2 separate regions of the Homo sapiens genome follow, and region 2 is linked to region 1. Evidence: promoter capture Hi-C in human tissues and cell types (Jung and others, 2019). All regions are on one chromosome and are shown on one strand. Each heading gives the region's core, a stretch centred on a gene start or on the middle of the fragment in contact. The rest is flanking DNA. Distances are from core to core; before and after follow the strand shown.

What was found. Contacts are between HindIII fragments. The study calls those that stand out against the background at their distance.
Region 2: a contact is called between a fragment that was not itself captured here and the fragment with the promoter of C9orf50 in region 1, in 1 of the 25 tissues and cell types used here (spleen).

What each region holds. Positions count from the first base shown.
Region 1 is chr9:129,618,465-129,624,409 of GRCh38, forward strand. C9orf50 (chromosome 9 open reading frame 50) reads right to left here and starts at 2,637. Exons shown (of 7, transcript NM_199350.4): 1 at 1,603-2,637; 2 at 1,276-1,366; 3 at 1,056-1,172. The coding sequence starts at 2,110. It also overlaps a transcript of NTMT1 not described here. RefSeq lists enhancers at 2,099-2,749, 5,620-5,759, 5,770-5,819. The HindIII fragment of the contact is 8,954 bases long and covers 1-4,185 here.
Region 2 is chr9:129,049,274-129,055,218 of GRCh38, forward strand. MIGA2 (mitoguardin 2) reads left to right here. Exons shown (of 16, transcript NM_001329990.2): 5 at 108-225; 6 at 554-690. Among named protein-coding and RNA genes, the nearest start is that of MIGA2, 16 kb to the left of the region's middle. The HindIII fragment of the contact is 8,197 bases long and covers 1-5,945 here.

The sequences.
Region 1 (5,945 bases), core at 1,387-3,886:
GGTCTGAATAGAACTGAACTATGAATGTATGGGTAGATGGACAGATGCGTGGCTGGATGATTATGTAGATGGGTATGTAGGTTTGTGGATGGCTTTATGACTAGATTAGCGATGGACAGTGTCCTGGGTTTACAAGTGGATGGAAGGATTTGTAGATGGTTGGTCATTGGATCAATGGATGGATGGATAGAAGTGTGGGAGTTTTATTTTTTATTTATTTTATTTTATTTTATTTCATTTTTATTTGAGATGGAGTCTCACTCTGTCACCCAGGCTGGAGTGCAATGGCACAATCTCAGCTCACTGCAAGCTCCGCCTCCCGGGTTCACACCATTCTCTCGCCTCAGCCTCCCGAGTAGCTGGGACTACAGGCGCCCGCCACCACGCCCGGCTAATTTTTTGTGTTTTTTTTTTTTTTTTTGTATATTTTTAGTAGAGACGGGGTTTCACCGTGTTATCCAGGGTGGTCTCAATCTCCTAACCTCGTGATCCGCCCACCTCAGCCTCCCAAAGTGCTGGGATTACAGGTGTGAGCCACCGTGCCCTGCCGAAGTGTGGGAGTTTTAGATGGATGACTGGCTAGCTGGTTGGCCAGGTAGATGAATGGATCCACAGGACACCTGATTCATGGGTGGGTGGGTGAGTGAATGTATGGATGGATGGAGTCATGGGTCCATGATAGATTAATGGGTGGACAGAAGGATGGATGGATAGATGGAGAGATTCATGAACGGGTTGTAGAAGACTTGGTTCATGGATGAGATGGATGCAAAGATGGATGGGTGAATGGGAAAATGAATATATGAATAGATTCATGGATGAATTATGTGTTGGTAGAAGACCTCATTAATGGATGGGTTGATTCATTGATGAACTGGCGAATGAATCTTGAATGGGTTGGTAGAAGATCTGATTCACGGACAGCCATATGTAAGGATGGATGAATGGGTAGATAGGTGGATAAATGAATACATTCATGGGCGAAAGAGGAAAGAAAGAAGGAAAGAAATGCCCCTTTCCTCCACTACCCTACCCTTATCCCGCCCATCACTCACTGGTTGGCCTTTCTGACAGTGGTGAATTGTGAGTGATCACCCTTCAGGGGCCCCAGAATAGGTGTCTGCTGGAGCGAAATCTTCGTAAGACTATCCTGGAGGTGCGATGACTGGCCCCTTAAAGACAAACAGGCCACATCTGGCATGAGTGGCCAGGCTGTCCCGCCCTGGAAACATCGATGGCAACCCCGTCCCCACCAAGAAGCGGACTGACGCTTACCACAGGTCTGGGAGGAATGAACAGTTGGGACACCGCGGAGACCCTGGGCAGTGCTCTAATACACCCCTTTGATGTTGCGGTGCTGGGGATGCTGGAGCCAGGAGGAAACAGTTGTGAGCCTTGGCTGGGGGACGGTCCTTTCTAGTCATGTGGCCTCGGGGTGATGGCAGACCAGCCCTCAAGGACGGGTTGCGAGGGCTCTGAGATACTCAGCTAACATTAGCATCCTTCTAGCCTGGGTGGTGGGGTGGTGGGTGCGGGGACACAAGGGACCACCCCCCACCGGAAATGACTCGGGCCCGCCCCCCGGGCCCCGCGGGGCCTCACTCAGTGGCTCCGGCTCCTCGGCGCACTTCTCCTGGAGCTGGTGCAGGAACTCACGGAACCTGCTGGGGAGGAGCTCTCCTAGGAAGGCGCCCAAGAAGTCGGGGTCCTCCCTGGCCACGCGCCTCCGGGGGCGCTCGCGCTCTCCAGGCCCTGGCTGCCTGGGCGCCGATTCCCGGGACGCGCCGGCCGACAGCAGGGGAGGCGGCAGCAGGGACCGCAGCAGCCCCCGCTTCCGCACGGCCCGCCGGGTCGCGGTGAGCAAGGCGGGCAGGCGCGGCGGGAGGCGTCCGACGCCCACCCCGGGCTTGGCGTCCCCTTCCGGCCACCACGCGGCGCCGCCCCCCGGGATCCTCCAGTCCCCGGAGCCCCGCGCGCCCAGAGCCGCTCGGAGCGCGGGCGGGGTCAGCTTGGGCAGCCGCGGGTCGCTGCTGCGTCGGAAGTCTCCGTCGCCAGGGAGCCCCTTGGGCGCCAGGTCCTGGGCCCCTGGGCGAAGTCGACGCCAGAACATGCTTGGCCCCGCACTCAGCTCACCGCACCCTCAGCGCGCGTGGGTGGGGGGCGCCGGCTGAGGTGGGGAGGGCATAGTCCAGCCCCAGGCCATAGTGCCCCGGGCGGGGCAGCGCGGTGCGGGGTGAACGCCACCGGCCCGGCGGACAGCGAGTGGCTTCAGGCGAGAGCTCCCAGAGCCTCTGTTTCCTCACCTGAAAAATGGTGACAGCAAGAGTAGCCAACTTTGGGGGTTGCTGTGACGTTTAAATGAGCAAGTACATGCCAGTCTTAGAACAGCAAGCTCGGTACAGTGCCAGGCACGCTGGCCAAGCTTACACATAGACTAGCTGCCATTCTTAGTATTTCAAAGTTATTATTATTTAGGATTTAGTCCCAGCTCCACCACTTATTAGCTTTGTAACCTTGGCCAAGCCAATTAACTTCCCTCTGCCTTCCCTGGGGGCTCTGGTCTGCAGAATGGGGATAATAGCAGCACCTGCCTCTCTGCAGCCGTGAAACGGCATCACCGCATCACCGCTGGTAGAGAGAGCACTTAGCCTGCCTTGCAGTGTTCAAAGCGTGGAACTGTTACCGTCATTAGCGCTCTACTGGGAATTAGGAAACCTGGAACCAGCTTGAGGGAAGAGAGACCTGACCAGCAGCCTCCCAGCCCTGGTGCTGCCTCAGAGACCCCTGGGTGGGGAGCCTGTTGAAAATACAGATGACTTACCCCCAGCCCCCATTCTGATTCAGTACGTCTCTGCTGGAGCCAAGACAGTTTGTTGTTCTTGTTGTTGTTGTTAAAGAGATGGGGTCTTGCTAAGACGGGGTCCTGCTGTCACCCAGGCTGGAGTGCAATGGCACCATCATAGCTCACTGCAGCCTCAAATTCTTGGGCTCAAGTGATCCTCCTGCCTCAGCCTCCTGAGTAGCTGGGACTACAGGCACACACCACCACAGTTGGCTAATTTTTGTATATTTTGTAGAAATGGGGTAGAATTTTTTTGTATTTATGTTGCACGGGCTGGTCTTGAACTCCTGGGCTCAAGTGATCCACTTGCCTTGGCCTCCCAAAGTGCTGGGATCACAGGCGTGAGTCCCCACTTCTGGCCAAGACACAGACTTTTAACAAACTCCCCCTTTGGGAGGCAGAGCCCCAGTCTTACTCCCAGCTCTGACACTGAGGGGTTTCTAAGCCTGCTTCCTCCCAACCACACCCCACTCCCAGATTGTTGTCAGCTCTGAGCTGACTCCTGGGCAGTGTCACACTCACCCTGGTGGGCTTCTGGGTGGGGCCCTAGAAGGTCCTGTGAGTTTAGAGCTCTCTACAGGCAGGCTGTAGAGCCCATCATCCCTGCCTGGTGCCTCTCCCAGCCCCTCCCGGCTGCCTCTGGGCCGCTTCAGGGTCATTGTGATCCGCCCCTCACCCCTGGGCATCTGAGTAGCAGTGGGCACTGAGGCCTGGGGACTAAGGGTGGGGCTATTGTGCCCTGGATGCCCTGGCCGCAGCCACCTGGGGCACTGGGACTCTGACCAGGGCAGCCAGGCCTACCCTTTCCAGATCTGGGAGGCTTAGGCTGGGTGGCTCTGGAAGTAGAACTTCCACCCCAAGACCAGGCAGTCAGAATACAATGGACCTAGAAATGAACAGACCCTGCGGGGCACGGTGTCTCACGCCTGTAATCCCAGCACTTTGGGAGGCCGAGGCGGGCGGATCACCTGAGGTCAGAAGTTCAATACCAGCCTGGCCAACATGGTGAAACCTCGTCTCTACAAAAAATACCAAAATTTGCCATGCATGGTGTTGTGCACCTATAATCCCAGCTACTTGGGAGGCTGAGACAGGAGAATCGCTTGACCCTGGGAGGCGGAGGTTGCAGTGAGCTGAGATCATGCCACTGCACTCCAGCCTGGGTGACAAAGCGAGACTCCATCTCAAAAATAATAATAATAATAATCCAAGGTCTGGGTGCTAGGTGTGCTTCTTGCTATTGAGATGTCATTTCTTTCAGGCAGTCTCAGCTGACAAAGAAATGTGTGTGTATACTATGAAACACACACATATCTATAAATATTTCTATAGGTAACCATCTGTACTTATATTAAGCTAAACATGAGCTCATGCTGACATCTCCAACTCTAATCCGTTACACAGATCATTTGAGACTCTGTCTCACAAAAAAAAAAGAGGCCAGGTTCCAGTGGCTCATACCTGTAATCCTAACACTTTGGGAGACCGAGGCAGGTGGATTGCCTGAGCTCAGGAGTTCGCAATCAGCCTGGGCCACATGGTGAAACCCCGTCTCTACTAAAATACAAAAAAATTAGCCGGGCGTGACAGCGTGTGCCTGTAGTCCCAGCTACTTGGGGGGCTGAGGTAGGAGAATTGCTTGAACCCGGGAGGCGGAGGTTGCAGTGAGCCGAGATCACGCCACTGCACTCCAGCCTGGGCAACAGAGTGAGACTCCATCTCCATAAAAAAAAAAAGAAAGAAAGAGCCGGGCACGGTGGCTCACGCCTGTAATCCCAGCACTTTGAGAGGACAAGGCGGGTGGATCATGAGGTCAGGAGATCGAGACCATCCTGGCTAACACGGTGAAACCCTGTCTCTACTAAAAATACAAAAAATTAGCTGGTTGTGGTGACGGGTACCTGTAATCCCAGCTACGCGGGAGGCTGAGGCAGGAGAATGGCGTGAACCCAGGAGGCGGAGCTTGCAGTGAGCGGAGATCGCGCCACTGCACTCCAGCCTGGGCGACAGAGCAAGATTCCATCTCAAAAAAAAAAAAAGAAGGAAGGAAGGAAGGAAGGAAGAAAAGAAATTAACAGACCCACTTTCAAGTCCATGGTCTGCTGTTTTGCTGTGTGATCCTGGAGAAGTGTCTTCTTTCTCAGGACTCCCTGGGCCTTATCTCTGAGTCTTGGCTGGGAGAGGGCCGAGAGGAAGCTCATAGTATTGTGAAGCTGGGGTGGGAGACAGAGGTCATTTACATGAGTATTTCACTGGCGTGGCATAGTTTCATAATTTGAAAATGAAGAAACGACTTTGTAATTCAAATAACAGAGTGACTCACTAGAGAACGCGTCGCCAAAGATATATTCTATTTTCTGTCAATGCTTCTCACCAGGGATGGAGGGACATACTTTCCTGGAGAGCTACAATATTGAGTGGGGGAGGGAGATATTTTTGTATTTATTTAAAGGGTATGTGTCTTTTTTAATGGCTGCGAAACACCAGATTAACTAGACGGTTTCTTTTTTTCTTTTCTTTTCTTTTTTTTTTTTTTGGAGACGGAGTCGCGATCTCAGCTCACTGCAAGCTCCGCATCCTGGGTTCACCCCATTCTCCTGCCTCAGCCTCCCGAGTAGCTGGGATTACAGGTGCCCACCACCACGCCCGGCTAATTTTTTTGTATTTTTAGTAGAGACGGGGTTTCACCGTGTTAGCCAGGATGGTCTCGATCTCCTGCCCTTGTGATCCACCTGCCTCGGCCTCCCAAAGTGCTGAGATTACAGGCGTGAGCCACTGCGCCTGGCCTAACTAGATGGTTTCTAAGGAGCCCTCCAGCCCTTGCACTCTGCAAATATTTATCAAGGAACTACTATGTGCTAGGCTTGGGAATTCAGAGATGCCAGAGGCTTTGAGGTCAGGGAGCCGGCCAGTCCTGGGAAGGCCTTGGAGCGTGGCTGTGGGGAAGGGGCTTGCTCTTCTGTTGACAGGAAATAAGACAGGGCTGGATTTTTAGGCATACAGAGAGCTTGGATCAGAGCTGCCCCCTGGCGGAGGATTCCGGACACCCCCACCGATTGAAATTGCCCAGGATCAATCCCTTTGCTTAAAGACACAGAAAATG
Region 2 (5,945 bases), core at 2,322-4,821, 570 kb before region 1:
GGAGGGGGCGTGTGGCCCATGGTCAGGCAGTGGAGGAGGGCTCAGGGGGGCCCTGCAGAGAGCCCGGGAAAGCTTCACTCTTTCTTCTTGCACTGATTGGCGCCCAGATGATGGCAGTGAACTCATCCAGCCCCACAGCCGCGTGCTCGGGACTATGGGATGCCAGAGGGATGGAGGAGTCTCTGACCACCAGCGACGGCAATGCAGAGAGCCTGTACATGCAAGGTGTGGCCAGGAGGTGCCTCAGCTTCGAGGGCAGGGTGGGTGGCAGGAACAGTCCCTTCCTAGGAGCTTGGCCAGTCTTGGGTCACTTTGCCCCTCACTACCCTGCCCCAAATCCCAACTGGGTGATTTCCAGCCATTTCTGAACAAGGGACAGTGTCTAGGAACAAACCTGGTCTGAAAGAAGGCCTGGAACCTGAGCAGCCCAGGCCACACGGTCCCACCCAGTTCTTGCCCTTCAAGGCCCTCCTGCCTCCTTGATGTTCTGAGCCCCCTCTTGGGTGAGACTGTGGAGGTGCTGACCCACGCTTTTCGCCTCACCTGTGCTCAGGCATGGAGCTGTTTGAGGAAGCTCTGCAGAAGTGGGAGCAGGCACTAAGCGTGGGCCAGCGGGGGGACAGCGGCAGCACCCCCATGCCCAGGGACGGCCTCCGGAACCCAGAGACTGCATCAGAGCCACTGTCTGAGGTAGGTGGTCTTCTGCATCCCCCTACGCCCATGGGATAAAGTTGGCAGCACAGGAGAGGGGCGGCCACACCTTGGGAGGCAGGCAGTCTCCTGTCCTCTGAGACTGCTGATTTCCCTCTATGAGGGTGTCTTGATGTGAAACAAAACAATTCATGTCACGTGCTCAGCACAATGCCCGGCGCTTGGTAAAAACAGCCGTACTGAGACTCACACCCGCCTCGACCCTGTGAAGGGCAACGTGTGGTCCTGAAAGGCTGGAAGGGAAGGCGCCTCTGTTGAGGGTTGGCTGCATTGCCTGGCCTTTGTTTTGTTTTGTTTTGTTTTGTTTTTGAGATGGAGTCTCGCTCTGTTGCCAGGCTGGAGTGCAGTGGCGCAATCTTGGCTCACTGCAACCTTCACCTGCCAGGTTCAAGCGATTCTCCTGCCTCAGCCTCCTGCGTAGCTGGGATTATAGGCGCCCGCCACCACATTCAGGTAATTTTTGTATTTTTAGTAGAGACAGGGTTTCACCATGTTGGCCAGGCTGGTCTTGAACTCTTGACCTCATGATCCACCCTCCCTGGCCTCCCAAAGTGCTGGGATTACAGGCGTGAGCCATCGTACCCAGCTGTTTTTTTTTTTTTTTTGAAATGGAGTCTTGCACTGTCACTCTGGCTGGAGTGCAGTGGCGCAATCTTGGCTCTCCGTAACCTCCGCCTCCTGGGTTCAAGTGATTCTCCTGCCTCAGCCTCCTGAGTAGCTGGGATTACAGGTGCCTGCCACCACACCCAGCTAATTTTTTGTGTTTTTAGTAGAGACGGGGTTTCACCACATTGGCCAGGCTGGTCTTGAACTCTTGACCTCGTGATCCGCCTGCCTTGGCTTCCCAAAGTGGTGAGATTACAGGTGTGAGCCACTGCACCCTTTTTTTCTTTTTTTTTTTCCTTTGAGACAGAGTTTCGCTCTTGTTGCCCAGGCTGGAGTGCAATGGTGCGATCTTGGCTCACTGCAACCTCCGCCTCCCGGGTTTAAGCGATTCTTCTGTCTCAGCCTCCCAAGTAGCTGGGATTATAGGCGCATGCCACCCCATGTGGCTAATTTTTGTATTTTTAGTAGAGATGGGGTTTCATCGTATTGGTCAGGCTGGTCTCGAACTCCTGACCTCAGGTGATCTTGACCTCAGGTGATCTGCCTGCCTCGGCCTCCCAAAGTGCTGGGATTACAGGCGTGAGCTACCGCGCCTGGGCTTTTTTTTCTTTAATACACTTTTTTGGGGACTTTTTGGGCAACATCCAAGTTTTCAACAGTGAATTATTTATTTATTTATTTATTTATTTATTTATTTTTTTTTTTGGAGACGGAGTCTCACTCTGTTGCCAGGCTGGAGTGCAGTGGCGCGATCTCGGCTCAGTGCAACCTCCGCTTCCTGGGTTCAAGAGATTCTCCTGCCTCAGCCTCCCAAGTAGCTGGGATTACAGGTGTGCACCACCACGCCCAGCTAATTTTTGTATTTTTAGTAGAGACGGGGTTTCACCATGTTGGCCAGAATGATCTCCATCTCTTGACCTCATGATCCGCCCGCCTTGGCCTCCCAAAGTGCTGGGATTACAGGCGTGAGCCACCGTGCCTGGCTTATTTATTTATTTATTTATTATTTTATTATTTTTTTTTAAGACGGAGTCTTGCTCTGCCGCCCAGGCTGGAGGTGCAGTGGCGTGATCTCGGCTCACTGCAAGCTCTGCCTCCCAGGTTTACGCCATTCTCTTGCCTCAGCCTCCCCAGTAGCTGGGACTACAGGTGCCTGCCACCATGCCCGGCTAATTTTTTGTATTTTTTAGTAGAGACGGGGTTTCACCATGTTAGCCAGGATGTAATTAATTAATTAATTAATTAATTAATTAGAGACGGAGTCTCACTCTGTTGCCCAGGCTGGTGTCCAGTGGTGCGATCTCGACTCACTGCAAGCTCTGCCTCCTGGGTTCACGCCACTCTCCTGCCTCAGCCTCTGGAGTAGCTGGGACTACAGGTGCCTACCACCACGCCCAGCTAATTTTTTTGTATTTTTAGCAGAGACAGGGTTTCACTGTGTTAGCCAGGATGGGCTTGATCTCCTGACCTCGTGATCCGCCCGCCTCGGCCTCCCAAAGTGCTGGGATTATAGGCGTGAGCCACCGCGCCCAGCCTGTAATTTATTTATTTTTAAGGTGTGGCCTCACTCTGTTTTCCAGGCTGGAGTGCAGTGGCGTGATCTTGGCTCACTGCAGCCTCCACCTCCTGGGTTCAAGCGATTCTGTCTCAGCCTCCTGAGAAGCCAGAGTCAGAGGTGCCTGCCAGCACGCCCGGCTAATTTTTGTATTTTTAGTAGAGATGGGGTTTTACCATGTTGGCCAGGGTGGTCTCGAACTCCTAACTTCAAGTGATCCACCCGCCTCGGCCTCCCAAAGTGCTGGGATTACAGGCTTGAGCCACCACACCCAGCCTACAGTGAATATTTATTATTGCAATATCAGGAAAGGAAAATGAAGTTAAAAGGCTAAAATTTAAATTTTTGTGGCCAGGCACGGTGCCTCACACCTGTAATCCCAGCACTTTGGGAGGCCGAGGCAGGAGGACCAGTTGAGCCCAGGAATTTGAGGGGATGGGGCCACTTTTGGCAGCGGAGGTAGAAGGAGGAGGGAGGATTTCTCTGCCTATTCCTCCCTCACCCTTGCCTTCATTCCTCTACCCGTGTGTCCCATTGGCCGAGAGCCAGCTGGCAGGGGGACCTGGGAAACAGGTTGCAGAACAAGGGGAGGGCTGTGTCTGGCACAGCTGGTAACAAGTTGAAGGTGTCCATGCTCTCTGTCCCTGCTGGGGCGTGAGCTCAGGATGTGAAGGTCAGGGAAATACCTGAGGTTTGAAGTGACTCAAACCCTTGAGTGCCTGCAGTTGCAGCTGCGTCAGGTCCTGTCTGCGAGTCGGCAGGGAACGGGCACCTGTAGGAGTGTGTTGGTGAGGGGGACTCAAGGGAGGTAGCTTTATTTCCCAAATTGTATTTCTTGCTAAAAACTATATCTGAAAATGATAGAATTTGCATTGTTTTCCTTGTTGTGAAAGCAATTACATATTCCTTATCAAATAATGAAAAGTACAGAAATAGGAAAGAGAAGGGGGTGTAAAATAGTCTGATCCCAGACTCTGATCAGACAGCCCATGGTTGTGTGGTGTGGCACCCTCGGCCTCCTGGAGCACTGGCGCTCTGTGGGGGCGCCAGCACCAGCTGTTCAGGCCTGGTCCATAGTAGGTGCTCAGTTAATGATCTGTGGCATATCTACATGCCAGGACGCCTACAACCTTACAATCCTACAAGGGGTGCCTGCAGCCCTTCATCCAGGCATCACCACTTTCTATTCCTTCAGGCATTTTTTTCTGTCTATTGCTATAATTTTTTTTTTTTTTGAGACGGAGTTTCGCTTTTGTTGCCCAGGCTGGAGTGCAGTGGCGCAATCTTGGCTCACTGCAACTTCTGTCTCCCAGGTTCAAGCGATTCTCCTGCCTCAGCCTCCCGAGTAGTTTGGATTACAGGCATGTGTCACCACGCCCGGCTAATTTTTTTTGTATTTTTAGTAGAGATGGAGTTTCACCATGTTGGCCAGGCTGGTTTCTATCTCCTGACCTCAGGTGATCCGCCCGCCTCGGCCTCGCAACGTGCTGAGATTACAGGCATGAGCCACTGCGCCTGGCCTATTGCTATAATTTTTAAACAGTTTTATTGAAATATAGGCTGGGCACAGTGGCTTACACTTGTAATTCCAATACTTTGGAAAGCTGAGGTGGGAGGATTGTTTGAGCCAGTGAGGGAGAAGTTCAAGACCAACCTGGGCAACATAGTGAGACTCTGTCTCAAAAAAATTTTTTCTTGAGACGGGGTCTTACTCTGCTGCCCAGGCTGGAGTGCAGTGGCGTGACCAATTAGCTGGGTGTCATGGCATGTTCCTGTGGTCCCAGCTACTCGGGAGGCTGAGGTGGGAGGATCACCTGAGCCCAGGAGTTCAAGGCTGCAGTGAGCTATGATTGTGCCACTGCACTCCAGCTTGGGCAACCCTGTCTCTACAAAAAGAAAAAGAAAAGATATAATTCACATAGCATCTAAACTGTACAATTGAGTAGCTTTTGGTATATTCACAAAATTGTGTATCTATTATCACAATCAGTTTTGGAGCATTTTTATCCCAATAAGAAACCCCTGGTCCAGCATGGTGGCTCATACCTGTAATCCCAGTGCTTTGGAAGGCCGAGGTGGAGGAAAATTTCTTGAGCCCAGAAATTCAAGACCAGCCTGGGCAGCATAGTGAGAGCCCATCTCTGCAAAAAATTAAAAAGTTAGTTGGGCATGGTGGCGCACACCATGTGGTAGTCCCAGCTACTCAGGAGGCTGAGGCAGTAGGATCCCTTGAGCCCAGAAGGTCAAGGCTGCAGTAAGCCATGATTGTGCCACTGCATTCCAGCCTCTGCAATAGAGTGAGACCCTGTCTCAACAACAACAAAGAAACAACAACAAAGAAACCCCATGTACTTTGGCCATTCCCTTCACATTCCTTCATTTCCCCCCAGCTCTAGGCAACCACAAATCTATTTTCTCTACATCTGGATTTGCCTATCACGGACGTTTCTAGAAATGGGATCACAGAATATGTGGCCTTTTGCGACTGCCTCCTTTCACATAGCAGAGTGCTTCCAAGGTTCATCTGTGTTGCAGCATGAATCACTGTTTTGTTTCTGTTGTATAGATGGACCACATTTTGTTTATTTGTTCATCAGTTGGTAGATATTTGGGTTGCTTCCATTTTTTGGCTCTTATGAATAATGCTGCTGTGAACATTCATGTACAGGTTTTTGTGTGGACATATGTTTTCATTTCTCTTGGGTATATACCTAGGAGTGAAATTGCGGGGATCACATGATAATTCCATGTTTAACTTTTTTTTAAGACGGAGTCTCGCTCTGTCGCCCTGGCTGGCGTGCAGTGGCACAATCTCGGCTCACCACAACCTCCACCCCCCAGGTTCAAACGATTCTCCTGCCTCAACCTCCTAAGTAGCTGGGATTACAGGCGCACGTCACCACGCCTGGCTAATTTTTGTATTTTTTTTCTTTTCTTTTTTTTTTTTTTTGAGATGGAGTCTCGCTCTGTCGCCCAGGCTGGAGTTCAGTGGCGCGATCTTGGCTCACTGCAAGCTCTGCCTCCTGAGTTCATACCATTCTCCTGCCTCAGCCTCCTGAGTAGCTGGGATTAC